Linked DNA regions of Homo sapiens: all the other regions are linked to region 1. Evidence: promoter capture Hi-C in human tissues and cell types (Jung and others, 2019). All regions are on one chromosome and are shown on one strand. The core of a region is centred on a gene start or on the middle of the fragment in contact, and the rest is flanking DNA. Distances in the headings are between cores, read along the strand shown. Region 1 holds the start of ACAN (aggrecan). Region 2 has its middle 54 kb from the start of ISG20. Region 3 has its middle 79 kb from the start of ACAN.

Region 1 (2,919 bases), core at 227-2,726:
GACCCCAAAACACCGTGCTAACCCAATTCAGCTTTGTATTTTCCTCCTGGCAGCCAGCCCCACAGAACCAGAATTTACACATCAGTCAACATGCTGGAACTCCAGCTTCTTCATGGTGAAACCCTAGTAGGATCCTGTCAGAACCCAGCTCATGACTGAAAGGAGGATAATGATGGAAAAGTTTGGGTTGGATCCTGTCTCACAACCAGAGACAAGCCCCCACCCCCGCAGCTTGCTCTGCCCAGAGTGTGGTTCAGTTGACATACTGACAGCCTCCAACCCAGCCCCAGGGTTGGAAAGGGCTCCTGCTCCACCAGCATTGGCTTCGTTTGAAGAGGAACCCACAGACGGAAAAACCGCTCGTGGTCGTGTGTCCTCAACTCCCCTCCCCTTTCTTCCTTGAGAAATGCCCCTTCTTGGTTGGACACCCGTGTGTTCAGGGCACTGCTCTCCTCTCCCCTGCTGGCAGTTCAGTAGCTCTGTCCCAGGTTCTGCCACTCTCCCCTGGGCAGACTCTTCAGGCACTCTGGTCCCTGGAGTAAGCCAAGTGGCCAAGGATGGACTATCTAGCCTCGGCTTAGGACCCGCTGTGTCCCTGACATAGTGTCCATATGATTTCATTTATTCTTCCAGACCCCGCGAAGGCCTTTTCCCTCTCAGCTGACAGACGGCAGGCCAAGGCTCAGGAAGGTGAAGCACACCTTCCAGCTCAAAAGTAGCACCTCGGGGATTTGAACCCACATTCCCTTGACTCTGAAGCTGCTACTCTGTCAACCATGGGTCTTTCCAGACCCTAGGATTTAAAATCACCTAGGTGTTTGGAGAAAAGGCTCCCTTGTTCCTTCATCCTGGCGGACTAGGAGACAAGTGCCCCTCCTCACGTGTTCCTTTGCCCCATTCACTGAGTCTGCAACAGCCAAAAAGTTTGCTCAACTCCACCGCGGACGCAGCCGGTGGATGTGCTGCGCCCCCGGCACACATAGCTCTAGGGCGGAGACCAAGGCAGTGCAGCCCCCAGCCCCGGGGCGTGCAGTCTCAGTCCCGTTCCTGGCTCGCCGGGCGCCCTGGGAGAGCCTCGCTCTGGAGGGAAGGAGACAGTTACCTTGAAGAGTTGGACTCCCTTCTCCAAGAACTTCAGTCCCACACACCTGGCGAGGCAGCTGGGGGCTCCTGGGGCCGGGAGGCCCGGGTCTCGCTGCGTAGCGAGGGAGACGCTCTGCGCGGGCGCTGCGCACCCCTCCTCCTGCCGGCGTCCTGTCCGCAGGTCCCCTCGGGCTGTGGCCGCAGCGGCAACTGCTGGGTTGCGGAGTCCTGGCTGGCTGAGGGAATGGACACTGAAAGGTGCCCGGAGACCCTGGCACCCGCGTCAGACGCCGGCCGGCGAGGGTGCTGAGAGAGAGAGACCTTGAGCAGCGCTGCGCGCGTCCTCAGCTCTGCGAGCCCCCTCTGGAGCGGCGGGGAGGTAGGTGGGCGGGCGGGCGGGCATGGCGCGCTGTGACACATACATAGGGACGGGCGGGGGAGGGGAGGGCCCGTGAGGGGTGGGGGCGGGAGGGGGCGAGCGCAAAGGGAAACCCCACCCCCAGGGACCGAGGGGCGGCCGACAGGGGGAGGGGAAGGCAGAGGCGTCTGGAGCGCGCTGGACCCTGGCTCCGGACCGGCGCGCCGATGGGGAAGCCGGCCTGCGCTCAGGGCGGGAGAGGAGCGCTCCCCGGGGCGGCGCGGACCCGGCAGCTCCGGGGCTGGCGGGAGGAAGGCGGCGCGAGAAGGGCTGGAGGGCCCGCATCTGCATTGCGGTCGGCAGCTCCGCAGTCGGAGGGGCCCAGGAGGGCTGCACCCTCAGAGAATCCCCAAGTGCCCGGACTCTGAGGCCGCCGCGGCGGGACAGGGCTCCCGGGCGCCCGGCGGGGTTCTGCAGCTGAGGCTGGCCACGACGCGATCTAAGGAGGGTGCAGCCCGCTACTGTCGGCCACGATTTGGAACGACCCTCACCGAGGAGCTGGCTGAAAGTTTTTTTGGGGGTGGCGTACACCGGGATGGCAGGGGATGGTGGAGAGGGGGAGGTAAGGCGTCAGCGGGGAGGCTCACGGGGAGCTGCGAGTCTCTGGGTCTTCAAATTCCCCGGGAGAGACCAAGGACATCTCATATGAAGCAGGAATTCTCCAGTGTCTCTACAGTACTCTTTAATACCGTTTTCAGGAAAAGGAGAAAAAGAACTAGCAGCTTTTGAATCCCTCCTATGAGCCCGTTGTGTAACATACATTAACATTTCATTTAATTTTTCCAAAGAGCCCAACAAGGTAAATATGGCAACTTCCCACCTGCCCCTAACCAAAGATGTGAAAACTGAGGCTCAGAAAGTGGTGGAGATCCCTCTTGAAGGTGGGACTGAGTTCGAGTCCCAGGTCTTGTGCTCTCTGCTACACAGGCTGCTGGTTGAGCCACAGCACCTTCGGAGGACTCAAGCTGGCTGGTGACCTTCAGAGTTCTTGTGGAGGAAGCTGGTGGTGCTTCACACCAGGATGTGGTGGCCACAGTCAGGATGGTGGTGGAAGCTTCCTGACCCTCTCATTGGGCAAGAAGAGGAAGAAGTGGAATCTTTCGGGACTCCCCACTACAGAGATAATAGACCACACTTTAATCAGTTCCTTGATGAAAAGGAACTGAAGTGCCTCGGTTTCCCCAGGGCGACTCCACTGGAATTATGTGGTTATTTTACTGGCCATCTCTGCCTGGGGGCGGGACTGGCCCTGGCCCAGCACATGCTCTGTGAGCCGCCTGTCTCTCCCCTGTCCAGGGCAGTGAAGCCCCGTCGGAGGGAGCATAGTGCCCACTCTATCCACCCACCTCTCAGAGCAATGGCTAAAGTGTTCCAGTGGTTGGCCATTCTTGATTTCACCCTTTTTCTACCTGAGCGTA
Region 2 (2,919 bases), core at 135-2,634, 110 kb after region 1:
GGGGTCACAGAAGAGGGAAAAGGCACTCCCTGTTTGCTGGTCCTTATTCTGCAGGAAACTCCATGTTTCTCACCCATCTACAGGGGCCATTTCTCCACCTCACACAAGGATTGTGGCCCCTCATCTCTTCTGCCTCACGGTCATTGTGAAGTTAAAATGGGCAACTCAGTTCTTAGGTTGGACCTACTGACAACAGACATATGACCTGGTTACAGTAAAAGTGTGTTTGCTACCACAGTGAGTGACTAGAGATAAAAAATTATAAAAAGAAAAAAAAGAGAGTGTTGGAGCTCAAGGTCCCCTTCTCACTTTCTGGAACATCCCTGATTGGAATCTGCCACTTTCCAATACTGGGAGAAACTCTTGTTACTTTCCTGATTACAACTCCATAATGGCTTCCCACTAAGTCCCAGATGCTTACTGCAGTATATCAGGCCGGGATGCCCTGTCCCTGACAGATTCTTTGTCTTGATGGCTCCCTCTCTTTGTCTACACAGACAAGACTCACTTCTCCCTGCCCCTTGCTGCTTGTTGTGGCAAGTTACCCCCGACCCTCCAGCAGGCCCTGGGTCAGGAAGGAAACTCTCACTTGTTCAGGGTGCACTCCCCAGACCACAGTCAACTCTCTAGAAAGGGTTTTAGTCTGCATGTTGGAGAATGCAATAGCAATCCACCTTCCCAAAGGTTTCAATAGTCACTTTCCATGTAGGGTCATACAATGGGGTTCCCAAACTACTTCAGTCATATAAACAAAAGGGGACCATGATGATGAATATCGGGTGTCACTGTTAGGACTCAGACGTGTCAGCCGTGCCCCAAGGGGATGCTGTTGCCTATTTGGAAGCCTCTGGCACTGGGGCAGTACTGCAAATGTGAGCCCTGAGAGTGAGATAAGTTTACTCACCTGTTTACCTACACCTAAGATATATGTTTTGCAGATAATTTTATCCGGTCTCTGGCTCACTTATTCATCTTCTTAGAAGTGTCTTTTGCCCGGGCGCTGTGGCTCATGCCTATAATCCCAGCGCCTTTGGAGGCCGAGGCGGTCAGATCACTTGAGGTCAGGAGTTCAAGACCAGCCTGACCAGCATGGCAAAACCCTGTCTCTACTAAACATACAAAAATTATCCGGGCGTGGTGGCACGCACCTGTAATCCCAGCTACTCAAGAGGCTGAGGTGGGAGGATCGCTTGAGCCAGGAGGCAGAGGTTGCAGTGAGCTTAGATCACACCACTGTACTCCAGCCTGGGCAATAGAGTGAGACTCTGTCTTAATTTAAAAAAAAGTATCTTTTTGTGAGCAGAAGCTTTTAATTTTAATGAAATATAATGTATCTTTTTTTTCTGTTAGGGTTATTGCTGTCTGTGTCCTCTGCCTACTCTCAAATCATGAATATATTCTTGTGTATTTCTTCTGGAAATTTTATAATTTTAACATTTACATTTAGGACTGTAATCCGTCTTGAACTAATTTGTGTGCATGGTATGTGGTATGGGTCAAGGTTTATTTTTTCGCCACATGGATATTCAGTTCCAGCAACATTTGTTGAAAAGACTCGTCTTTCCTCACTGGATTGCATGGACAACTTTGTTGAAAATCAATTGACTACATAAGTGTGAGTCCTGTCCAATACTGTTTCATTATGATTGCAGAATGACGGAAAGATATGACTGTAATAGCAATTCTCTATAGAAACTGTCTAAACACACACTTTCAATGGACAACATGTACAGTTTTGTAATTATTTTCTTTGTTCGTGTTATTTTTGTTCTGGTTTTATTTATTGAAATGTAATTTTTTTTGAGACAGGGTCTCACTCTGTCACCCAGCTGGAGTGCAGTGGCATGATCATAGCTCACTGCAGCCTCAACCTCCCAGGCTCAGGGATCCTCCCACTTCACCCTCCCTAGTAGCTGGGACTACAGATGGGTGCCACCATACCTGGCTAATTTTTGTACTTTTTGTAGAAACAGGGTTTCACCATGTTGCTCAGGCTGGTCTCAAATTCCTGGGCCCAAGAAATCTGCCCTCCTCAGCCTCCCAAAGTGCTGGGATATCAGGCGTGTGCCACCGTACCCAGCCAGAAATGTATTTCTTATGTTAATTAAATCTAATAAAAATCTAGATTTGTATTTCATGTCTTTATTTTTTCTAGTAATTCGTTTTTGTGTTATTTTAAGAAAGTATAGGTTTATGACAGACGAAAAACAAGCAAAACCCTGATCCTTCACCACAGACAGTTTGAGAAGCTCTGCTCTGTATCCTACCAGGCCTGCAGGATATTTCGATATTAACAAGCATTAAGTATAAAGGAATTCCAGAGAAAAATACTTCTGAGAAACATTGGGCTAAAAAGTTAAGCAGGTTTTTATATTGCAGGACTCCCTGGGATCTCAAATGCATTATCAAATTACCGAAAGGAGAATATAGCAGGATGTGTTTCTCAAACTTATATGATCAGGGAACTCTTTCTTCATGGAGCCTCTTGAGAGACCAGTGTTCCATGGAACAACATTTGAGAACCATCAATCCACAACATCCCTCATGAGTAGTCACCAGCATTGGCTTGGAAGGCTCCAACAACATTATCTTGCATGGCAGCCCATCTCGTTTTCAGGCAACTTTCATCCCTGGGGGGTGCTCGTCCTCTCTGGAGTGGCACAGAAGCAAACCCAATCTGTTTTATACTGGAGAGTCCTCTGCAGAGCTTGGGTCTCCTCCTATCACATTCTCTAGCCTAAGTGTCTCTGCATTAAGCTAGGTGCTCCCTTTAAGAGCAGGAGCTGGGCTTGGCTTGTTAAGTCTCTAATGCTTGGCACACAGTAAGCACTTGGTAAATGGTTGTTTAATCAATGAATAAATAAAGCCTCCCTCAGTTCATACCTCAAATTTGCCTCCATCTCCAGACCTTTTGCTGTC
Region 3 (2,919 bases), core at 267-2,766, 79 kb after region 1:
CACACAGGTTCATTTTTTAGCAGCCACTTCTTTGGAGCCATAGCTCACATCTTTCCTGGACTTTCAATATGGGATTTTAAAATAGTCTTGTGGCTTCCTGTGAACTGTTTACTTGTAAAACAGGAACACATTATATTAATTTCTATTTTTTCCGAACAGTATTTTTCTATAGTTCCTCTTACTAAAAATGACAGATTTTTTTTTTTTTTTTTTGGTTCTTCCCCTATCACCAGGAGGTAAAGTTTAGTGAAGTTGTGGTGTGTTGAGGTGGGAGGTTTGTCCAAATATCTCCTGTGGAAGACCCAGGTCACTACACAGGACCAAGTTTCATGTGTGTCCCTTCCCTGTGGGTTCTAAACCACAGTGCCTGCACTGGGCCTTGCTTGTTTATCTTCTTGTCAAACAGCCCTTCCATTCTGTGTTTGAATGTGGTTCTTGCTGCTTTCATATTGGGCATGCAGTGTCATGCACGACCAATGTGGGTAGACATGGAGCTGCCTGTCCAGAACCCCATCAGCACAGTCCTTCCCTGGCAGTATTTGTGGGAGGAGAAGAGCTGCAGCATGGTTGAGCAGTGGGCAGCTAAAGATCCAGTTCTCTGGAAGCAGAATTGGCTCCACTGTGGTTTGGGACCAGCGAGCTACAGCCAGTGTGCAAGGGTCTCACTGAATAGTAGGTGCCCACTTGGGACCCTAAATAGGGAGATGTTCCCCTCAGAGACCTTGCTCTCCCTGGCTTCTCTGGTAGATCCCTTGTCCTTTCCAACAGGGCACATCCACTCTGTTTACACATGCAAGAGGTAATTGCAGAGCACCGTTAGTAGACCATTGCTCTCACACTCAAATGTAACTTGAGAAGACTTACTTAGGTAGCTTGGACCAGGACCTCCCACCTTCACCTCCAGGTTAATCAGATAAGCAGTGCCCTTCCAGGGACCACCTGCTTTTGTTTCACTTTTATCTGTCTCCATCCTGAACTGAGGCGGGTAGCCCTCTGCGTGGCCCTTTCGGTGCCCTTCTCCTTTCAAATCTATGGCTGAACTCTTCTTAGAAGATTACAGGCTGGGTGCAGTGGCTCACATCTGCAATCACAGCACTTTGGGAGGCCAAGGTGGGTGGATCACTTGAGGTCAGGAGTTCGAGACCAGCCTGCCCAACGTGGTGAAACCCTGTCTCTACTAAAAATACAAAAATTAGCTGGGCATGGTGATGGGTGCCTGTGGTCCCAGCTACTTTGGAGGCTGAGGCAGGAGAGTCCTTGAACCCAGGAGGCGGTGGTTGCAGTGAGCCAAGATTGCACCACTGGACTCCAGCCTGGGTGACAGAGTGAGACTCTGTCTCAAAAAAAAAAAGAAAAAAGAAGAAGATTACGTTATTATTTTATCTGGACTAAAGTATGCTGAGTATTATGAATAAAGCTTCTATAGACATATTTGTGCATGTCTCTTTGGTGAATATTTGGACTCCTTTCTGTTGGCTCTGTACCCAGAGGTGGAATTTCTGGGTCATACAGTGCTGTTTACCTTTAGTAGACCCGACCAAACATTTTTCCAAAGTGCTTGAACCAATTTACCCTCCCACCAACCATAGATGAGAGTTCCAGTTGCTCCGAGCCCTTGTCAGTCTTTGATTTCACTTTTTCTGGTGGGTTTGTAGTAATGTCTCATTATGGCTTCAGTTTGCACTGATGAATGATATATATATATTTTTTTCTGAGACGGAGTCTCACTCTGTCCCCCAGGCTGGAGTGCAGTGGCGCAATCTGCTCACTGCAAGCTCTGCCTCCTGGGTTCATGTCATTCTCCTGCCTCAGCCTTACAAGTAGTTGGGACTACAGGCGCCTGCCACCATGCCCGACTAATTTTTGTACTTTTAGTAGAGACAGGGTTTCACCGTGTTAGCCAAGATGGTCTCGATCTCCTGACCTCATGATCCGCCCACCTCAGCCTCCCAAACTGCTGGGATTACAGGCGTGAGCCACCGCACCTGGCCCGATACTGGGTATTTTTTTTTTTTTACAAGTTTAATAGACATTTGGATAGCGTTTGTTAATATTCAAATCTTTTGCCTATTTTTTTGTTATTTCTTTTTATTGACTTGTGGAGTTTCAAAAATAAATATTTTTAACAGGACTACTTTGTCAGTTATATATATGTATTACAAACATCTCCCAGTCTTTGGCTTATCTATTCATTTTCTTAGTGATGTCTTTGGATAAAGGACATTAATAAAGTTCTTTTTTTTTCTTTAGTGATTAATGCGTTTATGCCCTGTTTATAAATTCTTGCTCTCCCCAAGGTCATGAAGACTTTTTTTATGTTTTCTTATGGAAGACTGACTGTTTTACCCTCCCAACTTAAGGCCTATAATCCATTTTGAATTAATTTTTGCATGAAGTATAAGTTAGGGGTAAAAGTTAATTTTTTCCAAATAGATATCCAATTGCTCTAGTATCATTTATTGCAAGACAATTTTCCCTCATGAATAGCAATGGAACGTTTGTTGAAAAACATAGCAGCTTTATTCATAATAGCCCCAAACTGAAAACAACCCAATGTCCCTGAATGGATAAACAAATTGTGGCACATCCGCATAATGGAATACTTCTCAGCAATCAGAAGAACGAATTATTCTTGAATGAAGAATGAATAGATTATTGATGCACAACAATACGAAAGAATCTCAAAAACATTATGTTGAAGAAAGGTTGACAGAGATAAAAGAATGCATACTCGTTGGTCCATTTATATGAGGAAAAACTAATGTGTGTTGATAAAAGTCAGAACAGGCCAGGCAGGTGGCTCATGCCTGTAATCCCATCACTTTGGGAGGCTGAGGAGGGCAGATCACAAAGTCAGGAGTTCGAGACCAGCCTGGCCAATATGGTGAAACCCTGTCTCCACTAAAAATACAAAAAAAA

Evidence for each region. Contacts are between HindIII fragments. The study calls those that stand out against the background at their distance.
Region 2: a contact is called between a fragment that was not itself captured here and the fragment with the promoter of ACAN in region 1, in 4 of the 25 tissues and cell types used here (H1 embryonic stem cells, aorta, bladder and 1 more).
Region 3: a fragment that was not itself captured here is called in contact with the fragment with the promoter of ACAN in region 1 in 3 of the 25 tissues and cell types used here (IMR-90 fibroblasts, aorta and liver).

Annotation. Positions count from the first base shown.
Region 1 is chr15:88,801,993-88,804,911 of GRCh38, reverse strand. ACAN (aggrecan) reads right to left here and starts at 1,476. Exons shown (of 19, transcript NM_001369268.1): 1 at 1,103-1,476. It overlaps LOC105370960 (a long non-coding RNA gene), which reads left to right and starts at 1,394. Exons shown (of 3, transcript XR_001751648.1): 1 at 1,394-1,462. The HindIII fragment of the contact is 7,348 bases long and covers 1-2,919 here.
Region 2 is chr15:88,691,106-88,694,024 of GRCh38, reverse strand. No RefSeq gene overlaps it. Among named protein-coding and RNA genes, the nearest start is that of ISG20, 54 kb to the right of the region's middle. The HindIII fragment of the contact is 5,407 bases long and covers 1-2,919 here.
Region 3 is chr15:88,723,026-88,725,944 of GRCh38, reverse strand. No RefSeq gene overlaps it. Among named protein-coding and RNA genes, the nearest start is that of ACAN, 79 kb to the left of the region's middle. The HindIII fragment of the contact is 6,960 bases long and covers 1-2,919 here.